Regions from separate parts of the Homo sapiens genome. Here regions 2, 3, 4, 5 and 6 are each linked to region 1. The links are contacts of gene promoters, found by promoter capture Hi-C in human tissues and cell types (Jung and others, 2019). All regions are on one chromosome and are shown on one strand. The core of a region is centred on a gene start or on the middle of the fragment in contact, and the rest is flanking DNA. Distances in the headings are between cores, read along the strand shown.

What was found. Contacts are between HindIII fragments. The study calls those that stand out against the background at their distance.
Region 2: the fragment with the promoter of ZNF823 here is called in contact with a fragment that was not itself captured in region 1 in 8 of the 25 tissues and cell types used here (IMR-90 fibroblasts, bladder, dorsolateral prefrontal cortex and 5 more).
Region 3: the fragment with the promoter of ZNF441 here is called in contact with a fragment that was not itself captured in region 1 in 1 of the 25 tissues and cell types used here (dorsolateral prefrontal cortex).
Region 4: a contact is called between the fragment with the promoter of ZNF440 here and a fragment that was not itself captured in region 1, in 6 of the 25 tissues and cell types used here (H1 embryonic stem cells, aorta, bladder and 3 more).
Region 5: the fragment with the promoter of ZNF439 here is called in contact with a fragment that was not itself captured in region 1 in 7 of the 25 tissues and cell types used here (H1 embryonic stem cells, aorta, dorsolateral prefrontal cortex and 4 more).
Region 6: the fragment with the promoter of ZNF69 here is called in contact with a fragment that was not itself captured in region 1 in 4 of the 25 tissues and cell types used here (dorsolateral prefrontal cortex, hippocampus, lymphoblastoid cells and 1 more).

The regions. Positions count from the first base shown.
Region 1 is chr19:12,188,914-12,192,558 of GRCh38, forward strand. It overlaps ZNF136 (zinc finger protein 136), which reads left to right. Exons shown (of 4, transcript NM_003437.5): 4 at 1-958. Among named protein-coding and RNA genes, the nearest start is that of ZNF136, 28 kb to the left of the region's middle. The HindIII fragment of the contact is 7,748 bases long and covers 1-3,645 here.
Region 2 is chr19:11,737,117-11,740,761 of GRCh38, forward strand. ZNF823 (zinc finger protein 823) reads right to left here and starts at 1,830. Exons shown (of 4, transcript NM_001080493.4): 1 at 1,701-1,830. The coding sequence starts at 1,703. RefSeq lists enhancers at 1,204-1,333, 1,724-1,803 and silencers at 1,404-1,553, 1,814-2,008. The HindIII fragment of the contact is 18,648 bases long and covers 1-3,645 here.
Region 3 is chr19:11,765,335-11,768,979 of GRCh38, forward strand. ZNF441 (zinc finger protein 441) reads left to right here and starts at 1,666. Exons shown (of 4, transcript NM_152355.3): 1 at 1,666-1,862. The coding sequence starts at 1,860. RefSeq lists an enhancer at 1,827-1,926 and silencers at 1,997-2,136, 2,587-2,696. The HindIII fragment of the contact is 15,674 bases long and covers 1-3,645 here.
Region 4 is chr19:11,812,436-11,816,080 of GRCh38, forward strand. ZNF440 (zinc finger protein 440) reads left to right here and starts at 1,838. Exons shown (of 4, transcript NM_152357.3): 1 at 1,838-2,015. The coding sequence starts at 2,013. RefSeq lists silencers at 1,673-1,752, 2,173-2,242. The HindIII fragment of the contact is 18,958 bases long and covers 1-3,645 here.
Region 5 is chr19:11,846,935-11,850,579 of GRCh38, forward strand. ZNF439 (zinc finger protein 439) reads left to right here and starts at 1,792. Exons shown (of 4, transcript NM_001348719.2): 1 at 1,792-1,996. The coding sequence starts at 1,934. The HindIII fragment of the contact is 2,018 bases long and covers 1,462-3,479 here.
Region 6 is chr19:11,886,089-11,889,733 of GRCh38, forward strand. It overlaps ZNF69 (zinc finger protein 69), which reads left to right and starts at 1,694. Exons shown (of 4, transcript NM_001364730.1): 1 at 1,694-1,898. The coding sequence starts at 1,836. RefSeq lists an enhancer at 1,891-1,940. The HindIII fragment of the contact is 10,336 bases long and covers 492-3,645 here.

The DNA of each region.
Region 1 (3,645 bases), core at 339-2,838:
AATGTAGAAGCTATATGTATATTTTGTTAATTAGTGGCTCATATTTAAAATAGTTCTCTGACTATGGATTTCAAATGCTTAATCTCACAAAGAAATGTTAAATTGATATAATCCTGTAAGTAATCTGAAAGCAATAGTGCATGAATTTCATAGGTAGTGTTGTTTTAGGTCAGTAAATAAAATATTTGTCTTTCCATTTTGAAATGTGTTTAATCCAACAATGAATTTAAATGTGTTTCTCATATTCAGGTATGTTAAATTGTATATGGTTGCTTAATTGTTCTGTGATTGAGGACCACTGAAAAATAAGTCTTAATAAATGTTGGTATGAACCTACTTGCTTCATTTAGCAGGTTCTTGATTCCCTTTCCACATTATATACATTCCATCATATTTATTGGAACAGCTCCTTTTTTTTCCTTTTTTCTTTTTTCTTTCTTCTTTTTTCTTTTTGAGACAGGGTCTCGCTCTGTGCTCTGTTGCCCAAGCTGGAGTACAGTGGCATGATCTCGGCTCATTGCAACCTCTGCCTTCTGGGTTCAAGTGATTCTCCCACCTTAGCCTCCTAGGAAGCTGGGACTACAGGCATGTGCCACCACACCTGGCTAATTTTTTGTATTTCTAGTAGAGATGGGGTTTCACCATGTTGGCCAGGCTGGTAGAACTCCTGACCTCAAGTGATCCACCCACCTCAGCCTCCTAAAGTCTGGGATTACACGTGTGAGCCATCACACCTAGCCCATTTTTTTTTTCTTGGCTCAAATAATTTTATTTTGCTTCCTATTAAAGAGTTGTTGTTAATTCTAAGTATGTAAAGTTTATCACAGACTGTAGTCTCGTGAATTATTATTTTAACCTGTTGTTCTTTACTCCTTGTTATTTATTCTGGCTGCTCTTTGTATAATTGATTTTGGGATAAGGAGACAGCTATGATAGAATAATAAAATCTAAAATGGGAGATGCCTTTCATGGATTGTGTCATGTCAATCTGGGTAATGGGAACTAAACTTTTCAGACTTCATTTCTTTCTTTCTTTCTGAAATAGGGTCTCACTCTGTCACTCAGGCTGGAGTGCAGTGGCACGACTGTGGCTCACTGTAACCTCAAACTCTGGAGCTCAGGTGGCCTTCCGACCTCAGCCTCCCAAATGGCTGGAACTATAGGTATGTGCCACCAAGCCCAGCTAATCTTTTTATTTTTGGTTTTTCATCTTTTTTTTTTTTTGTAGAGATGGTGTCTTGCTATGTTGCCCAGACTGGTCTCAAACTCCTGGCCTCAAGTCACCCTCTAGCCTCAGCCTCTTAAAGCACTAGGATTACAGGCATAAGCCACTGTGCCTGGCCCAGAATTTCTTTCTTTCATGGTTACCTGTAGACTGCATCAATAGCCTAAATTCCTGGAAGTTTAGAATGCAGAAGTGAAGAACGCATTAGTCAGATTTTGGAGGCATCATACGGAGAGACAGATGCATATGGGCTGTTTGGACATGGTCATCTAGCCCATTTTCCTGATTCTTTGCCCTGCCAATCAAGAGTATCCTCAGCCGGGTGTGCTGGCTCACACCTGTAATTCTAGCACTTTGGGAGGCCAAGGCGGTCGGATCACCTGAGGTGAGGAGTTCGAGACCAGCGTGGTCAACATGGTGAAACCCCATCTCTACTAAAAATACAAAAATTAGCTGGGTGTGGTGTCGCGTGCTTATAGTCCCAGCTGAGGCAGGAGAATCGCTTGAGCCAGGGAGGTGAAGGTTGCAGTGAGCCAAGATCATGCCACTGCACTCCAGCCTGGGTGACAGAGTACAGAGTAAGACCCTGTCTCAAAAAAAAAAAAAAAAAAAAAAAAAAGAGTATCCTCTAATCCACCACTAGCTACTTCACCTCCATGTTCTCAAAGTTATGGATTTCCATAGATGTTTTTAAAAGCTTCATATCAAAGATTCAGCTGCCATTTGGATATTCCTGAAGGCCCTAATATATCTGCCAAGTAATCAGTTCATATTGTCATTGTTGGGAATAGTCTGATGATCTGACTTGGTTCCTGTACGGTCCAGTTTGTACATAAACATTTTTGTCCATAGGGACAGTGAGTGTTACTGATGCAGGTTGAGAGCTACAATGGCACTATCCAAAAACAAAACGAAAAACCCTACATGGAGCTTGTTCCTCTGCTGCATTATGCAGAGATGGGTCTCACCCCGTTCTTTCATGTGAGAATAAGCACCTTATTCATTATAGAAACATTGTGGGTGTTTCCTGTTACTCATAGCTGAATGCAGTCCCTCAGTTTATTTTGAATTATGTTTGAGTACATATGATTACAAACAATATACATGTCCTCCTCAAACAAAAGTTCTCTACACATTTCTTAGAAATATTAACAGTATGCAAGCAACTTGCATACTGTCTGGTGAGTTTTGTATTTATTGAGAATATATATTAAAATATCCCATTCCAATCATGGATCCGATAAACTTTATAATTAAGCTATTTGTCCAACATTGTGAGTCAATATTACTGTGAGCTTACAACTTCAGGCCTTTTTTTCCTCATAAATTTTAGTTTTCATGCTTATTTGATTACAACTTTTATGATGATAGTAGTTTTTCATATGCATAATACCAAAAGTCAAATCATGTTGTGAGTGATTTCTTTCCAAGGACTATCAGGGACGTCCCTGTTGTCAAGCAGGGTGTAATAAATTGTGGTAATAAATACTACCACAGGCCGGGCGCGGTGGCTCACCCTGTAATCCCAGCATTTTGGGAGGCCAATGCGGGCAGATCACTTGAGGCCAGGAATTGGAGACCAGCCTGGACAACATAGCAACACCCTGTCTCTACTAAAAATACAAAAATTAGCCTGGTGTGGTGGTGCACATCTGTAATCCCAGCTACTTGGGAGTGGAGGTTGCAGTGAGCCAAGCACGCCACTGCACTCCAGCCTGGGCAACAGAGTGAGACTCTCTCAAAAAATAAAAAAATAATAAATACCACCACAAACCAGTAATGACTGTAAGGTGTATCAATAAGAGGGTATTTAAAAGAATTTATTGCAGAACTTATGCTGCTTTTTGGTTGCTTGATTCCTATTTAAGGAAGCAAAAAATTTCTCTGTATTTGATATAGTGAAGAGGTGAACTTAATTCTACCCTTGGTAATTCTTTTTATTTTTGAGACGGAGTCTTGCTCTGTCACCCAGGCTGGAGTGCAGTGGCGCAATCTCAGCTCACTGCAAGCTCCGCCTCCCGGGTTCACGCCATTCTCCTGCCTCAGCCTCCCGAGTAGCAGGGACTACAGGCACCCACCACTACGCCCGGCTAATTTTTTGTATTTTTAGTAGACGGGGTTTCACCGTGTTAGCCAGGATGGTCTCGATCTCCTGACCTCGTGATCCACTGGCCTCGGCCTCCCAAAGTGCTGGGATTACAGGCATGAGCAACCGCGCCCGGCCCTAGTAATTCTTTTTTTTTTTTCTTTTGTGAGACAGAGTCTTGCTCTGTTGCCCAGGCTGGAGTTCAGTGATGCGATCTTGGCTCACTGCAACCTCCACTTCTCTGGTATAAGTGATTCTCCTGCCGCAGCCTCCAGCGACAGTGCCAGACTTCGTCTCAAAAAAAACCCAGAAAACAAAAAGACAAAAACCTTTC
Region 2 (3,645 bases), core at 580-3,079, 450 kb before region 1:
CAGTTCTGTAACCCAGGACCAGGACACCATAGAGGGTGGGCTGACAGATCACCCTGTGCCATTTGCAAAGAGGAACCTCGACTGAAAATATTCGGGTATCTCTGTGTAGACAAGATAAAGGACAGCCACACATGCACTATTTTTTTTTTCTTTTTCTTTTTTCTGAGACGGAGTTTCACTCTTGTTGCCCAGGCTGGAGTGCAATGGCGTGATCTTGGCTCACCGCAACCTCCGCCTACCGGGTTCAAGCAATTCTCCTCCCTCAGCCTCCCAAGTAGCTGGGATTACAGGCATGAGCCACCACCCCGGCTAATTTTGTATTTTTAGTAGAGACGGAGTTCCTCCATGTTGGTCAGGCTGGTCTCGAACTCCCGACCTCAGGTGATCCGCCAGCCTTAGCCTCCCAAAGTGCTGGGATTACAGGCGTGAGCCACCGCGCCCGGCTTTTTTTTTTTTTTTTTTTTTTTCACACTGGAGTCAAGTGGTTATTCTTTGCTTCCTCACATGTGAAATGTTCACAAACACAAAAACACATCTTTTAAAAAGAGCCATACATTGCTATGTGAAAAGAAAGTGACAATTAAAATAATGCCTCTGTTTGAAATATTGCCTGAGGGACAAAGAGTTCATAAAGTTGCTGGGAATTGATGAGAGACAGTTAGCCTGGGGAAGGCTCTGAAAACCAAGAGATTTGCTGCCAGCCCTAGGAGGAGTTAGGATGAGGGGATAGGGTGGTGGATTTGAGACCCTGCTGCCCACATCTTTGGAAGACTCGGAGGGAAACCGGTCACCTTTGGGAAGAAAGAAGGGACTGGGGAACCCACAGATCACAGCTTCTCTTCCAAAGCACAAAGCCCACACACACGAGTCTGGATTCTGCCTGGTGACCCTCCGTTGTCACCGTGCAGCGTCCTCACCGGGTTCACAGGAACTGCGAGCCAGGCTGGAGGCGAGATTGCAGTTAGATATTAACCAGGTGCCCTCAGCCCCGCTGCCTCACGGGGCCGCCTCCCTGAGAGTCAGGTCACAGCAGACGCTGACCGCCGGCTTCCTCATCGTGCCCGGGGATAAGATCTCTTGAGAGTTGCTCACGGGTCGCCTCAGTTCTTTCTCGGATCCTGAATTGCAGCGGAAAGGCTGGCGCCAACCAGGCTGAAGACCCCACAAGGGAACCCACTCAGCAGAATGCGGTTTCTTCACCTCCAGTCCCAGGAGTCACCTCTCACTTCTCCACCAACCAGCGACCCCACACTCCAGCCGTCCCTGTCCACACCTCTAAACACCCCATCCCCAAACCTCTCAGGGAGGCGGATCTGGGGTGTCCTCCCCTCTCCCCCATTAAACTGTTTCTGCTGCAGCCTTCGGCGTCTCGGTGCAGTGACTCGGGCCGTGAACCTGTGCCGGTTACAACTGCACAATCTGGGGAGACGCGGAGCTGCGGGCGCGGAGCTGCCCAGAGAGGGCGCCGGGGCCGGGGCCGCAGCGGCCGAGCAGGGACGGGACAGGACGCCCGGGGTCCCGGCTGCCGCCCCAGCCCCATCTTGCGGCCCAGGGGACCAAGGGCAGAGCTGCGCCAGGGGCACTGGGATTTGCAGACCCCGGAGTCGCCCAGGGCGAGGCCCGGGTCCCCTCACGGTCGGTTCCGGCCGGTTCCAACCTGCCCCTTCTTTGCCTCGGGACGCCGGGCCCCGCACACTCACCATTTCCCAGCTTCCAGGTGTCCGGGTGTCCTCCTTAAAAGCCAGTGTGGGTCCCAGCGCGACAGACGCTGATACAGACCTTCCAGGGCGTCTCTCTCTCAGCGCCAGAGCCAGGACTCAGAGCGCAGGGGCGTGGAGAAGACTCCGCGGGCTCTTTGAACGTCGCACCCTCCTCCCTGCAGCGTGCCTGATTGACAGTTCTCACAATCCCCGCCCCCTCATCCCTGATTGGATAGTGCTCCAGGTCCCGCCCCTTGGTGGCTGATTGACAGAAGAAGCGATCTCACAGTGCTGAGTGGAGCCGGATGAACAGGTTCCAGGCACGACCCTTGGCAAGGCGGGCTTCCTCCCAACGGAGTGACCTGACCCCTCCCGAAGTGACGTTTGCATTTTAGAATTTCCTGATTGTATTCAGTGGGTTCTTCCTGCTTTTTCCTCCTGGACAGGGACTCACAAGTGTGTGCAGGGAATTCCAGGCTCCCTGTCCAGTGGAGCCATTCCCGGACCTCGGAGCAGGAGGGGAGCCCGGGGCACACAGGCCACCCTGCAGCAGGAGGGAGGGCCTGATGTCCTCCAGGGATCAGGAATTTGGGATGAGGCTGTTGGCGACGTTGCCAAGCCTTTCCCTCACCTTATCTCTCAATCTACTCATTTTCAGCCCAGAAGATAAAAACAGGACAACAAAATAAAATAGTTGAGTATGTGGAAAAACTGGAATTATATGGCAGCAATATTTCATAAAGAATCAAAAGAGAAGAAAAGCAAAAACTTGAACAAGCTCAGAGAAGCAGCCTACTGCACTCACAGTTCACAAGCAGACCCCCTTTCAGGAGGTCAAACATATCCCCAAGCTGGGAAGCCAGGCAATGATTCCTAAAATGGAGCTCCGGGGTGGATCAGAAGCTGGTGATAAGGGAGGGACAATTAAGAATTTTACTCTGAGGTCTCAAAATACCTGTCCCCTCTGCACAGCGTGGAAATGCTCCCTCCTTATGCCATTAAATGTTAATGAATTAAACGCTCCAATCAAAAGCCAAGACATCACACTTTGAATTTGAAAACATTAGCCTTTCTCCATATGTTTATGAAGTAAAAATACTAGACTTAAAAGCGTTATGGCCGGGCGCGGTGGCTCACGCCTGTAATCCCAGCACTTTGGGAGGCTGAGGCGGGTGGATCACCTGAGGTCGGGAGTTTGAGACCAGCCTGACAAACATGATGAAACCCCGTTTCTACTAAAAACGCAAAATTAGCCGGGTGTGGTGGCACGCTCCTGTAATCCCGGCTCCTCAGGAAGCTGAGGCAGGAGTATCGCTTGAACCCGGCAGGCAGAGGTTGCAGTGAGCCGACATCACACCACTGCACTCCAGCCTGGGCAACAGAGCGAGGAAAAAAAAAAACTCCATCTCAAAAAAAAAAAAAAAAAAGCGTTATGAACTAGAAGCTGGTAGCCATGGCTAAATAGAAAGGAGCTGAACATGAGATGTCAATAGATGAAATGAAATCTTCAATCAACTTCTAGAAACTATAGCATTTTCTGCCAGGACAAATGGGCACGTTTAGAAAATGAATGAAAAAAATGACGTCTGAGTATAACCTAATGCATAAATGATACTGTTTCCTTAAAAAAAAATAATAAGCACACACACAGACACACACACACACACTCCCACAGTCTATTATGCTAGAAACTGCTCTCTGAAGGATAAACTACTATTTTATGAAATGCTCCACCCCTCACTCCTCACATTAACTGCTCCTGGAACAATGTTCTATTTATTTGTTTCCACACATATTAAAAGAGGGCACAATGTATCAAACTAACTGATTGTCAGGGGTTTATATACAGATTCTGTATATTTTTACAAATGGCAACAAGTAAGTAGTTGATTTCTGCAATGATTTAAATACATATAAAAGCTTCCAGACAAAAATAGCTGTTCGC
Region 3 (3,645 bases), core at 416-2,915, 420 kb before region 1:
TTTATAAAGCCATCAGATTTCATGAGACTTATTCACTATCACGAGAACAGCATGGGAAAACCGCCTCCATGATTCAATTACCTCCCACTGGATCACTCCCATGACATGTGGGGATTATGGGAGCTGCAATTCAAAATGAGATTTGGGTGAGTAAGTCTCATGAGATCCGATGGCTTTATAAAGGGCAGTTCCCCTGCACACGCTCTCTTGCCTGCCGCCATGTAACATTTGCTTTTGCTCCTCCTTTGCCTTCCACCATGATTGTGAGGCCTCCCCAGCCATGCTGAACTGTGAGTCAATTAAACCTCTTTTTCTTCGTATCACCATGGGTGCCAGCTCCCAGTTAATAACGCTTTTTTTTTGTTTGTTTTTAAATAGAGATGGGGGTTTCACCACATTGCCCAGGCCGGTCTTGAGCTCCTGAGCTCAAGCAATCCACCCACCTCAGCCTCCCAAAGTGGTGGGATTGCAGGCATGAGCCACGGTGCCTGGCCTCATAATGCTTTTATATCTGGTATTCTTCATAAAAATATGAAGATGAATGTTTTCAAATTCAAAGTCTAATGTCTCAGCCTTTGATTGAAGCATTTAATTCAATAACATTTATAGGCTTGATGGAAGGAGCATTTCCACGCTGTGTTTAGGAGACAGGAGGGCAAATTGAACTCCCAGAGTTAAATCCATTAGTGCCCCTGACTCATCCCCAGGTTCTGATCCACCCTAGGGCTCCATTTCAGGAATTATCGTCTGGCCTCCAAGCTTTGGAATATGTTTGGCCTCCTGAAAGTGGTTGACTTGTGAACTGTGTGTGGATGCAGCAGGCTGCTTATCTGAGCTAGTTCAAGTTTTTGCTTTATAAAATATTGCCGCCATATAATTCCAGTTTTTCCACACATTTAACAATTTTATTTATTTCTTTTTTCTTTTTTCTTTTTTTTTTTTTTTGAGACGGAGTCTCCCTCTGTCTCGCCCACTCTCTCACTGCAGCCTCTGCCTTCCAGGTTCAAGTGATTCCTCTGTCTCAGCCTCCTGAGTAGCTGGGACTACAGGCGTGCGCCACCACATCCGGCTAATCTTTGTATTTTAGAGACGGGATTTCACCATGTTGGCCAGACTGGTCTCGAATTTCTGACCTCAGGTGATCCACCTGCCTCAGCCTCCCAAAGTGCTGGGATTACAGGTGTGAGCCACCACGCCCGGCTTTGTTGGGGTGTTTTTATATTCTGCACTGAAAATTAGTAGATTGAGACATAAGGTGGGAGAAAGGCTTGGCCTGTGCAGCCAACAGCCTCATCCAAAACTCCTGATTCCTGGAGGACATCAGCCCCTCCCTTCTGCTGCAGTGTGGCCTGGGCTCCCTTCCTGCTCTCAAATCAGGGGATAGCTCCACTGGACAGTGAGTCTGGAATTTCCTGCACAGACTTGTGGGTCCCTGTCCAAGAGGAAAAAGGAGGAAGGTCAGGACATACTGCCTAAATGCAAATGTCCCCTGGGAGGGGGTCAGGTCACAGCGCAGGGAGGAAGCTAGTCCTCTCAAGGCCTGTCTGGAATCTGTTTATCAGGTTCCACTCCGCTGCCCGAGATCGCTTCTTCCGTTACTCAGTGCCCGGGGGAGGGACCTGGCGCACTATCCAATCAGGGCCGCGGGGCGGGGTCGTGAGAACTGTCAATCAGGCGCACTGACCGGAGGAGGGTGCAAGGTTCAAAGAGCCCGCCGAGTCTTCTCCACGCCCCTGCACTGGGCTCCGGGTTCTGTCACTGAGAGACGCCCTGGAACGTCTGTGGCAGCTTCTGTCTCGCTGGGACCCGCACTGACAGCGGGAGGCAGAGGGAGGAACCTGGACGCCGGAAGCCGGGAAATGGTGAGTGTGTGAGGTCTGGTGTCCCGACGCGTGAGAGGAGAGACTGGTTGGAACCGGCCGGAACCGGCTGTGGTGGCACCAGGTCTTCCCCGCCGGCGACACCCTGGCGCAGCTCGGCCCTCGGTTCCCTCGGCCGCACGATGGGGCTGGGGCGGCAGCCGGGACCCCGGGCGTCCTGTCCCGTCCCTGCGCGGCCACTGCGGCCCTGGCCCTGGAGGCCTGTCTGGGCAGCTCCGCGCCCGCAGTCCTGCGTCTCCCCAGATTGTGCGGCTGTAACCGGCACAGGTTCGCGGCCCGAGTCACTGCACCGAGACGCCGAGGGCTGCAGCAGAAACAGTTTAATAGGGGGAGAGGGGAGGACACCCCAGATCCGCCTTCCTGAGAGGTTTGGGGATGGGGTGTTTAGGGGTGTGGACAGGGGCGGCTGGGGCGTGGGGTCGCTGGATGGTGGGGAAGTGAGGGGTGACTCTTGGGACTGGAGGTGAAGAAACCGCATTCTTCTGCTGAGTGGGTTCCCTTGTGGGGTCTTCAGCCTGGTTGGCGCCAGCCTTTCCGCTGGAATTCAGGATCTGAGAAAGAACTCAGGCGACTCTTGAGCAACTCTCAGAGATCTCATCCCCAAGCACAATGGCGAAGCCGGCGGTCAGCATCTGCTGTGGCCTGACTCTTGGGGAGGCGGCCCCGCGAGGCAGCGGGGCTGAGGGCACCTGGTTAATATCTAACTGCAATCTCGCCTCCAGCCTGGCTCGCAGTTCTGTGAACCCGGTGAGGAGGCTGCACGGTGATGACAGGTCACCAGGCAGACTCGTGTGTGGGGTTTGTGTGTGGGAGGAGTTGTGGTCTGTGTGGTCCCCTGTCCCTTCTTTCTTCCCAAGGGTGACCCGTTCGCCTTCGAGTCTTCCAAAGATGTGGGCAGCAGGGTCTCAAGTCCACCACTGTGTTCTCTCATCCTAACTCCTCCTAGGGCCGACAGAAAATCCCTTGGCTTCCAGAGCCTTCCTCAGGCTTTCTCTCCTCAATTCACAGCAACTTTATGAACTCCTTGTCCCCCAGTTTATTTTTCAAACAGAGGCTAGTATTTTAATTGTCATTTTGTTTATACATAGCAATATATGGCTCTTTGTAAAAGGTTTTGTGTTTGTGAACATTTCACATGAGAGGAAGCAGAGAAAAACCACCAGACATTTCGCTGTAAAAAAAATGAATATTAATAAATAAAATCTTTGTTACTGTCCTCCCTTCATCATCCCTAGACAGAGACACCTTTTGAGAATGTCTTTGGATTAAGTTTCCTCTTTGGAAACGTTACAGAGTGATGAGTCCCCAGCCCATCCTCTATGGTTTCCTGGTCCTGGGTTTCAGAGCTGCCTGGGGCCACCCCAAGATGCCCACAGCTGCCAAGTCTCTTGTAGTGTCAAGTGAATATCAGTCCCTTTGTCACTCCTCCCAGAGGACACCCTGAGGTGGAGATGGTGGGACCTTGTAGGGAAGCAGCATGATGCCCTGTAGTGGGAGGAGTCTCCTGGTATACCCTTCCTCAATAAGCTACTTCCTTAGAACACTCAGCTTTTCTTCCCCCATCCCTTCCTTGGGGATATATGGCTGGTCAGCCAATTGGATGGTGGTATTAAGGGGACAGGACTGAAATGATTCTTCCCTTCTGATGTTCTCAGACTAATGAAGGGAGAAAACTATCCCTAAGGACAGGAAAACCAACTCCACTGAGGTGGTGCAAGAACCTGAAAAGCTAACAATGTAGTGTCTCCTGGGATCATGGTTATTG
Region 4 (3,645 bases), core at 588-3,087, 380 kb before region 1:
AATACTTCTGTGACCAAATGCAAATATTTGAGAAGTGTCCCCCACATGCCAAGCAAAGCATCAATTCTGCAACTGACTCCAGCTCGATGTCTTCTAGTTCCAACACTTTCTACCTTTACATAAGGTACAAAACTGCCTCAGAAATCATCTGACCATGTGTCCCGGTTTGCCAGTGATAATCCTTGATAGTACCTGTTGTCCCAACATAGTTTTTCATAGCACCTCATCTTGCCATGGTTATCTGTGTCTGAACAATGAATATGTATGAATACTTTCACACATAAGCAAAATTAGGTTTATTAAATGAAGTTTCCAGGAATGTTCAAATTTCAACACCTGATTTACCTTATCACAAGTTATGGCTGTGCTAATTTCTCCAGGAAATATTCACAGAATATTGAATTTATCATTGTAAGGTGTGGAGCAATGAAGATGCCCAAGAGGCCAGGCGCACACCTGTAATCCCAACACTTTGGGAGGCTGAGGCTGGAGGATCACTTAAGCTCAGGAGTTTGAGATCAACCTGAACAACCGAATGAGACCTCATCTCTACCAAAAATAAAAAACTAGCCAGGCATGGTGGCAGGCACTTGTAGTCCCACCTACTTAGGAGGCTGAGGTGGGAGGATTGCTTGAGTCTGGGAGGTTGAGGCTGCATTGAGTAGCCATCGCACCACTGCACTCCAGCTTGGGCGACAGAGTGAGACCCCGTCTCAAAAAAAGATGGCTAAAACATAATTTTTTTTTTTTTGAGATGGAGTCTCACTGTGTCTCAGGCTGGAATGCAGTGGCACGATCTTGGCTCACTGCAAACTCTGCCTCCCGGTTCAAGCAATTCTCCTGCCTCAGCCTTTCAAGTAGCTGGGATTACAGGCATGCGCCACCATTCCTGGCTAATTTTTGTATTTTTAGTAGAGATAGGATTTCACCATGTTGGCCAGGCTGGTCTTGAACTCCTGACCTCGTGATCCACCTGCCTCAGCCTCTCAAAGTGCTGGGATTACAGGCATGAGCCACCGCGCCCGGCCTGCCTAAATCATAATTTCTATGACAGAATTTCTCATTTACAGCTTCCCCTGAGACCATCTTTCATTTCAGTTAACCCTGCTCCTTGGGGGTTATATGTGAGATAAAAGTGCCATGCTATATCATGTTCCCTGGCTCAGTCCTACACAGCATGTCCTGAAAAATGGGTCTTCAGTCACTGTCAATGCACCAGGGATAGATATACATAGTACTGAGAGCCTCTAAATCTTTAATAAGTTCTGGCTTGGTTAGCTCCCTTACAAGGAAAACCTTGCTGGAGTCCATAGCAGTGTGAGGAAGCCTTGGCCATGCCTCATCCCATTTCCCGCACGCTGGAAGACATCTGCCTCTCTCTCCTGGTGCAGTCGTGCCTTGCCTGGTCTGGGCTCCCCTCCTGCTCTGAGGCAAGCGTATCTCTCCATTGAACACTGAGTCTGAAATGCCCTGCACACACTTGTGATCCCGTGCAGAAGGAAGGAGCAGGGACAGCCCCTTGAATGAGGAAGCTAACAGTGCCTCTTCTAACAATAAGGAGCAAGTCGCCTTGAAATGCAAATATCTGATGACCAGGGCTCAAGGAAGGCGCTCGCTTAGAGAGGCTGTTCGCTTAGAGAGGCTGCTCGCTTAGAGAGGCTGCTCGCTCAGAGACGCTGTGGCCAGAACAAGTCAGACATGATCTGCAGGACCCGGTTACCCAGGGCTTCTGCTGTCACTCAGCACGGAGGAGGCGGGGCCTGGCGCCCCATCCAATCAGGGGTGCTGGGGCGGGGCCCTGTCAACTGTCCATCCGGGGAAGGGGGAAGGGACAGTCGCCCTCCGTCCATTCCTTTAGTGCTGCGCCGACAGCGGTCAGGATCTCGGCTTTCTTGCTTCGAGAGGGACTAGGTGCCTCCACCAGAGCTTCTGTCGCTCTGTAACCTGCACTGTGACCTACACTAGTCGCGGGAGCCACGCAGAGGACGCCGGAACACCCTGGAAGCCGAGAAATGGTGTGTGTGAGGGGGCTGGCGTCCGGGCGACTGGGAGAGGGGCTGGAATCGGCCGGAACCGGCTGAGGCGGGACCCGGGCCTCCACGCGGCGACTCCGGGGTCGTGGACGCGAGTCCCCTCGGTCGCAGGGTGGGGCTGGGCCGGCAGCCGGGACCCCGGGCCTCCTGTCCCGTCCCTTCACGGCGACTGCGGCCCCGGCTCCGGAGCCTAATCTGGGCAGCTCCGCGTCTCCCCACATTATGCGGGGGCCACGGGAGGGATATGGGGGGATCCCGCCTCGGATATGGGGTTTGTTAGAAACAAGTGCCCGGTGCCGCAAAGAAAACCAGCATCTAGGCAGAAAATTCCTCAGCAAAGCAAATTTATTTCTACACAAGGGTGCAGCTTGCGCCAGTCACAAGAGCACAGCGAGCGGGGTAGGGCAGGGGTTTTTCTCCTTAACGCAGTTTCTAGCACTTCTGTGTCCTTTCCTCATTGGCTAGGGTTGGACCTCACAATCTAAACTAACTCGATAGGCTAAGGTTTAAAATTAAATAGGGTCTGGCCAGGCGCGGTGGGTCACGCCTGTAACCCCAGCACTTTGGGAGGCCGAGGCAGGCGGATCGCGAGGTCAGGAGATCGAGACCATCCCTGGCTAACACGGTGAAACCCCGTCTCCACTAAAAATACAAAAAAATTAACTGGGTATGGTGGCGGGCGCCTGTAGTTCCAGCTACTCGGGAGGCTGAGGCAGGAGAATGGCGTGAACCCGGGAGGTGGAGCTTGCAGTGAGCCGAGATCGCACCACTGTACTCCAGCCTGGGCAACAGAGCGAGACAACTGGGCAACTCCGTCACACACACACACACACACACACACACACACACACACACACAAATTAAATAGGGTCTATGAGACGGGAAGGAACAGGGACTGTCCGTTACTAGGCGGGAAGGCGTATCTGGACTTGTCTGGGCGCGGCAAAAGCGGGAAGGTTGTTTACAGAACAGGTAGCTAGGAGACAAGGAAGTCGGTCTCAAGAAACAAAGAACAGCTTACTAAAGCTTTTAGAAAAGTAATTTATCATCTCTGACAGGTTCGTGTGGGAGGAGTAGCGGTCTTTGGGGTCCCCAGTGCCCACTTTTTTCTGTTAAAAATTAAACTGAGGTACGTTAACAATTAAAGAGTTTAGGGCCGGGCGCGGTGGCTCACGCCTGTAATCCCAGCACTTTGGGAGGCCGAGGCGGGCGGATCAGGAAGTCAGGAGTTCAAGACCAGCCTGGCCAACATGGTGAAACCCCATCTCTACTAAAAATACAAAAATTAGCTGGGCATGGTGGCGCGTGCCTGTAATCCCAGCTACTTGAGAGGCTGAGGCAGAAGAATTGCTTGAACCCAGGAGGCGGCGGTTGCAGTCAGCCAAGACGGCGTCACTCCAGCCTGGCAACAGAGCCAGACTCCATCTCAAAACAACAACAACGATTCACGAATGAGAAACACCCAGTCCTGGCTTGTGGTTTGTCAACGGAAAAAGCCAAGCTATGTAAAATAAAGAAGTTTATTAGGAGCCGAATAGGAGAGCCGTTGGCCGAGGGAAACACAACCCCAAGCAGCCTGGAGTAAGTGGTCCCGAGGCAGCTCAAGACAGTT
Region 5 (3,645 bases), core at 542-3,041, 340 kb before region 1:
GTACACACCACCTCTCCAGGCTAATAAAAAAAAAATTATGGAGATGGGAGTGTCTCACTTCACTGCTCAGGGTGGTCTTCAACTTCGGGCTTCAAGTGATCCTCCCACTTTGGCCTCCTAAAATGTTGGGATTGCAGGTGTAAGCCATGGCACCCGGCCTCCCAGGCTGTTGTTGAAAGGTCTTTGCAATCTCTAAGAGTTCTGCAGCAGTTTATTCCCTGACAGTGAGAGTCTCATCCTTTCACCCCATTTTGCAGCAGTAGTTGGGTGTTCACTTTTCTTTCCATAAGGAAGCGAGCTTGCCAGTGACCCTCATCCCCCTCCTCATCGATGACTTCTTTGTCATCAGAGCCTTCCTCTTCATAAATTCCCACGGAATCCAAGTTTTCACGTCCCAAATTATGATAGCCACAGGCCCTCACCAGCTGCCATAGCACCCCATTTCATGGAAGCCACCTGACTCTTCTTTGAGCATCCTGTCCCAGGAGCCCCCATCTGTGCTCTCCCGGGCTCCAGGCCCTAGAGCCGCGCTGCTGCAGAGCCCAGTTCCCAGGGCTGCTCCCTCCACGTATCCACATCCATCTCCAGCTTTCCACCCTTTCTCTGACCAGACAGGCCTGGAGGTGCTGCAGTGTCAGTGACCGTGGGTCCCTCCGCTGCCACCTCCACCGCGATCTGGAAGTCTTTTAAATGTACTTAAGTTATCTTAGAATTTTCCTTCCCCACTTTATACATAAACATAGGAGGAGAGCAGGGACTCTGCTGGTGTCTTATTCACACAATGGGATTGAGGGTGTTTGTGTCATGGAACTGATCAATGGGGTGAGAAGTAGCTGAATAACCTGCAGGGGCAGCAGAGCCCGAGGCCAGTGACTCCACGCTGAGGCCAGTCTGGAGCCTGCAAAGGAAGGGAAAGGAGCTTTTCCTGGGGGCTTCCTGGGCAGCCCGCCCTCCCCTACAGGTGGCCTCCAGCTGCTCAGAGCAGCTCCAGAAGGAGTGTGGATTCCGAGAAGCTGTAGGGCCCTGGAAAGCAGAAGACCTTCGTGCAGACGCATTTGTGGGGTTCTGTCCTTTCTGGTGTTGTACCTCTGGAGCCTGGGGCTGTCTTCTGGGCAGGGTTTGGGGTTTGACATACATGGGGTCGCTGGAGTCAGAGTTATTTGTATATATAAAGAAAATGTGTGAAAATCAGGCTAGAGACACAATTGTTTGGTGGCGTCACCTGGATAAAAGGTTTATGAGGTTGACAGTTTATTTAGGTCCGAAGCTTAACCCCAGGTGAGAGTTTCCTGCAGGTGAAAATGAAGATCTGGAAGGACGGAGCATTTTCATACTGTGAGGAGGGGATGGGGGTGTGTGAGCAAGTCTTGGCCATGCCTCATCCCCAATTCCGGCCCGCTCGAGGAAATATGCCTCTCCTCCTGGTGCAGTCTTGCCTGGCCTGGTCTCGGTTCCCCTGCTGCTCTGAGGCAGGAGATGGCTCCTGTGGACACTGAGTCTGAAATTCCCTGCACACTCCTGTGACCCCGTGCAGAACGAAGGAGCGGGGACAGTCCTTTGAGTGAGGAAGACGCTAGTGTTCTCTTCTAACAATAGCAAGTTTGGCTGAAATGCAACTATCCAATAACCCGAGTGCAGGAAGCAGCTCGTGTAAGCTTAGAGAAGCTGTTGCTAGAATCTGTCAGTCTGGCTCCGCAGGGCCTGATACCCAGGGCTTCCGCTGTCACTTAGACGTGGGGGGCGGGGCCGAACATTCCATCCAATCAGAGGCACTGGCTCGGGGCCCTGCCCACTGTGCATCCAGGCACGGAGGATGTTGCATTCCTGCCGTCACCTTTGTCGCTGCGAGGGCGGCGGTTGGGATCTGGCCTTTCCAGCCCCGAGAGGGACCTAGTGCCTCTACCCAGATTTCTGTCGCTCTGTCACCTGCGCTATGCCCTGCTTTACTCACAGGAGCTGTAGAGAGGACCCCGGTACATCTGAAAGCCGGGAAATGGTGCGTGTGCTGGCCGGGAGTGGTGCGATGGGGGAGGGGCTGCCTGGAACTGGCGGGACCCGGGCCTCCCTGTGGGCGACTCCGGGGTCTGGGACCGAGTCCTCCTAGAGCTGCTCGGCCCTCGGTCCCCGCGGCCGCTGGATGTGGGTGGGCCGGCAGCCGGGACTCCGGGCGTCCTGTCCCGTCCCTGCCCGTCGACTGCGGCCTTGGCCCCGAAGCCCTTTTGTGCAGCTCCGCGCCCGCAGCCCGACGCCCCAGCTTGTGCGGGGGCCACGGGAGGGTCATGCGCGGATTTCGACTCGGGTGTGGATTTCGTCCGTAGGAGGAGCAGCGGTCTGTGGGGCCCACAGCCTCCACTTTCTCCTGTTAAAAATTATACTGAGGTACGTTAACAAAAAGTTCATTTGAGGAAACAGCCATTCACGAATGAGAAACACCCGGTCCTGGCTTGTGGTTTGTCAACGGAAAAAAAACAGACTATGTAAAATACAGAAGTGTATTCAGAGCCGAGTAGGAGAGACCTTGGCCGAGGGAAACACAACCCCAAGCAGCCTGGAGTAAGTGGTCCGGAGGCGGCTCAGGACAGTTTGGTTTTATTCATTTCAGAGAGACAGGAATTGCAGGGAAAATGATGGATCAAGGCTGGAAGGTGTAAATTCCATTGGCAGAAAGGGTGGGACCTGTGGAAGGGGGGTTAGGAGGCACAGGTGGTTGAGGGATTCTGTAGGTGGCAGCTGGTTGAGAGTGTGAAGCTTTGTCTAAAGTTTGGAGGAGGTAGGAAGGAATGCTGAAGGAAGGGGGTCTGTTATCTGCCACTTCATTCCATCCCAGCCAAAAAACAGTCCTGTTTCTCTAGATTTTATGAATTCTAAGACGTAACTTTACCTTTGCCTTGCGTGGCCTTAGGTCTTGTTTGTAATTTGGTATCTTGTTGCCACAAGGAGTCTGTTTTTCCAGTCAGAGAATGTCTGTTTTTACATGAATGTGCGTCAGTTGCTGCATGTAAACTCCTAAAGGGAGAGGGTATAAGGAGACCTGTCTCACCTCCCATCCTGTCATACAGAGGCACTCAATTTTCAGGGTGTTTTGGGGGTTCCCTTGGCCAAGAGCCAGTCACTTCACTTAGCTGGGAAGGTACTTTGTTTGTTTTTGTTTTTGTTTGAGACGGAGTCTCCTTCTGTCGCCCAGGCTGGTGTGCAATGGCTCGATCTCGGCTCACTGCAACCTCTGCCTTCTGGGTTCAAGGGATTCTCCTGCCTCAGCCTCCTGAGTAGCTGGGATTACAGGCACGCACCACCACCCCCAGCTAATTGTTGTATTTTTAGTAGAGATGGGGTTTCACCATGTTGGCCAGGCTGTTCTCAAACTCCTGACCTCAAGTGATCCACCCCCCTCGGCCTCCCAAAGTGCTGGGATTACAGATGTGAGCCACATCGCCATGCCAGAAGATATGTTTTTATTTTTGTTTTACATGTTTAAGGCTAGGCTTTTATAAGGTACATGAGGAGACAAACCAGATAAATGCTTGATTGGTTGCAGAGATGCAGTCGCCTTATTTGGACTTGTCAACCGGAAATAATCAAAAGGTTCAGATTTCAGTTGGAAGAGTTTATTCAAGCAGAAAGATAGCAATGACCAAAACACAGACT
Region 6 (3,645 bases), core at 444-2,943, 300 kb before region 1:
TGATCTCGGCTCACTGCAAGCTCTGCCTCCTGGGTTCATGCCATTCTCCTGCCTCAGCCTCCCGAGTAGCTGGGACTACAGGCGCCCACCACCACGACTGGCTAATTTTTCGTATTTTTTAGTAGAGACGGGGTTTCACCATGTTAGCCAGGATGGTCTCGATCTCCTGACCTCGTGATCTACCCGCCTCAGCCTCCCAAAGTGCTGCGATTACAGGCGTGAGCCACCGCGCCTGGCCTCTCTGAGTTTCTCTTCAAAGACTTAGCCTGCTAACTTCCTTGTCTTTTGTTCTCCAGCTCAACTTTCCTGTTCCTCCTTGCCCCTAGTTACTGTAAAACAGCCTACCCCCTTCCCGTCAGCTCTAATCAATAACTCACATCTGTTCCCTTGGTTACCTGTACCCATTGTTCCCCCGAAACTGCACGTCTCACACGCTCCATCTCTGTACCTCACGTTCCCCTCTCCTTCTATATTTAGAAAAATACGTACAAGTAGCCAGTCGGGTCAGCTCAGATTGTGTGGTCGAACCCCAGCCCATGAAGGAGTGACACAGAGATAGGGACCGCATTAAGGATAAAAAAACCCCCGGTGACCTTTGTTCTCTGTGCTCTTGTGATCTTGATTGACACAAGTGGCACACTTCTGCAGAAGTAAATTGCCTTGCTAAACAAATGAAACTTTCCCCTAAGTGCTAGTTTTACTTCGTGGGACCAAGAATTTATTCCTAAAGCATTTTATATCCGACAGAGATATTCATATATATAAAGAAAATGTGGGCCAGGCGCGGTGGCTCACGCCTGTAATCCCAGCACTTTGGGTGGCCGAGGCGGGTGGATCACTTGAGGTCAGGAGTTCAAGACCAGTCTGGTCAACATGGTGAAACCTTGTCTCTACTAAAAATACAAAAAATTAGCCAGGCGCGGTGGCATGTGCCTGTAATCCTAGCTGCTGGGGAGGCTGAGGCAGGAGAATCACTTGAACCCAGGAGGCGGAGGTTGCAGTGAGTGGAGATTGCACCACTGCACTCCAGCCTGGGGGGACAGAGCGAGGCTCTGTCTCAAAAAAAAAAGAAAAGAAAATGTGTGAAGATCAGGCTAGAGACAGAAATGTTTGGGAGCGTCACCTGGATAAAGGGTTCATGAAGTTGGCAGTTTATTTAGGTCAAAAGCTTAACTTAACCCCTGGAGAGAGTTTCCTGCTGGTGAAAATGAAGATCTGGAAGGAGGAAGCATTTTCACACTGTGAGGAGGGGATGGGGGTGTGAGAGCAAGTCTTAGCCATGCCTCATCCCCAGTTGCGGCCCGCTCCAAGACATATGCCTCTCCTCCTGGCGCAGTCGTGTCTGGCCTGGTCTCGGTTCCCCTGCTGCTCTGAGGCAGGAGATGGCTCCTGTGGACACTGAATCTGAAATTCCCTGCACACTCCTGTGACCCCATGCAGAACGAAGGAGCAGGGACAGTCCCTTGAGTGAGGAAGACGCTAGTGTTCTCCTCTATCAATAGCAAGTTTGGCTGAAATGCAAATATCCAATAACCAGAGTGCAGGAAGGAGCTCGCCCTTGGAAAAGCTGTGGTCAGAATCCGTCTGTCTGGCTCTGCAGGGCCCGATACCCAGGGCTTCCGCTGTCACTCAGACATGGGGGGCGGGGCCTAGCATTCCATCCAATCAGAGGCATTGTGGCGGGTCCCTGCCCACTGTTCCTCCAGACACTGAGGGGGTCGCATTCCTTACCTCACCTTTGTCCCTGCGCGGGCTGCGGCTGGGATCCGGTCTTTCCAGCCCCGAGAGGGACCTGGTTCCTCTGCCCAGGCTTCTGTCACTCTGTCACCTACGCTATGCCCTGCTGTAGTCACAGGAGGTGTAGAGAGGACCCCGGGACATCTGAAAGCCAGGAAATGGTGCGTGTCTGGGGCCGGGTGTCGTGAGACGGGGGAGGGGCTGCCTGGACCGACCGGAACCGACTGTGGCGAGACCCTGGCTTTCCTGCGGGCGACTTTGGGATCTGGGACCGAGTCCTCCTGGAGCCGCTCGGCCCTCGGTCCCCTCGACTGCTCGGTGTGGCTGGGCCGGTAGCCGGGACACCAGGCGTCCTGTCTCGTCTCTGCGCGGCGACTGCGGTTCCAGAGCCCTCTATGGGCAGCTCCGCGCCCGCAGCCACGCGTCTACCCAGATTGTGCGGGGGCCACGGGAGGGTCATGTGGGTGATCCCGACTCGGGTGTGGGGTTCGTGCTTGGGAGGAGCAGCGGTCTGTGGGGCCCCCAGTGTCCACTTTTTCTCCTGTTAAAAATTAAACTGAGGAACGTTAACAAAGAGTTCATTTGAGCAAACAGCGATTCACGAATGAGACACACCCAGTCCTGGCTTGTGGTTTGTCAACGGAAAAAGCCAAACTATGTAAAATAAAGAAGTTTATTCGGAGCCGAATAGGAGAGACCTTGGCCGAGGGAAAAACAACCCCAAGAAGCCTGGAGTAAGTGGTCCCGAGGCGGCTCAAGACAGTTTGGTTTTATTCATTTTAGAGAGACAGGAATTGCAGGGAAAATCATGAATTAGTGCCTGGAAGGTGTAATTTCCTTAGGCAGAAAGGGAGGGACCTGGCCGGGCACGGTGGCTCACGCTTGTAATTCCAGCACTTTGGGAGGCCAAGGCGGGCGGATCACCTGAGGTCAGGAGTTCAAGACCAGCCTGGCCAACATGGTGAAACCCCGTCTCTACTAAAAATATAAAAAAGAAACTAGCCGGGCGTGATGGTGGACGCCTGTAATCCCAGCTACTCGGGAGGCTGAGACAAGAGAATTACTTGAATCCAGGAGACAGGTTGCAGTGAGCCCACACAGTGCCACTGCACTCCAGCCTCAGCACAGAGTGCGACTCTGTCTCAAAACAAAAACAAAAACAAAAAACAGAAAGGGCGGGACCTGTGGAAGGGGGGTTAGAAGGCACAGGTGGTTGAGGGATTCTGTAGGTGGCAGCTGGTTGAGAGTGTGAAGCTTTGTCTAAAGTTTGGAGGAGGTAGGAAGGAATGCTGAAGGAAGGGGGTCTGTTATCTGCCACTTGATTCCATCCCAGCCAAAAAACAGACCTGTTTCTCTAGATTTTATGAATTCTAAGGTGTGACTTACCCTTGTCTTGCGTGGCCTTAGGTCTTGTTTGTAATTTGGTATCTTCTTGCCACAAGGAGTCTGTTTTTCCAGTCAGATAATGTCTGTTTTTACATGAATGTGCGTCAGTTGCTGCATGTAAACTCCTAAAGGGAGAGGGTATAAGGAGGCCTGTCTCACCTCCCATCCTGTCATACAGAGGCACTCAATTTTCAGGGTTTTTTGGGGGTTCCCTTGGCCAAGAGCCGGTCACTTCACTTACCTGGGAAGGTACTTTGTTTTTGTTTTTATTTAAAACAGAGTCTCCTTCTGTCACTCAGGCTGGAGTGCAATGGCTCAATCTCGGCTCACTGCAACCTCCACCTTCCGGATTCAAGCAATTCTCTAGCCTCAGCCTCCTGAGTAGCTGGGATTACAGGCACGCACCTGAAGGGGGCCTGCCCCTCCACCCCTGTGGGTGTTTCTTGTCAGGTAGAGACAAGAGACTGAGTAAAGAAATAAGACACAGAGACGAAGTATAGGGAAAGAACAGTGGGCCCAGGG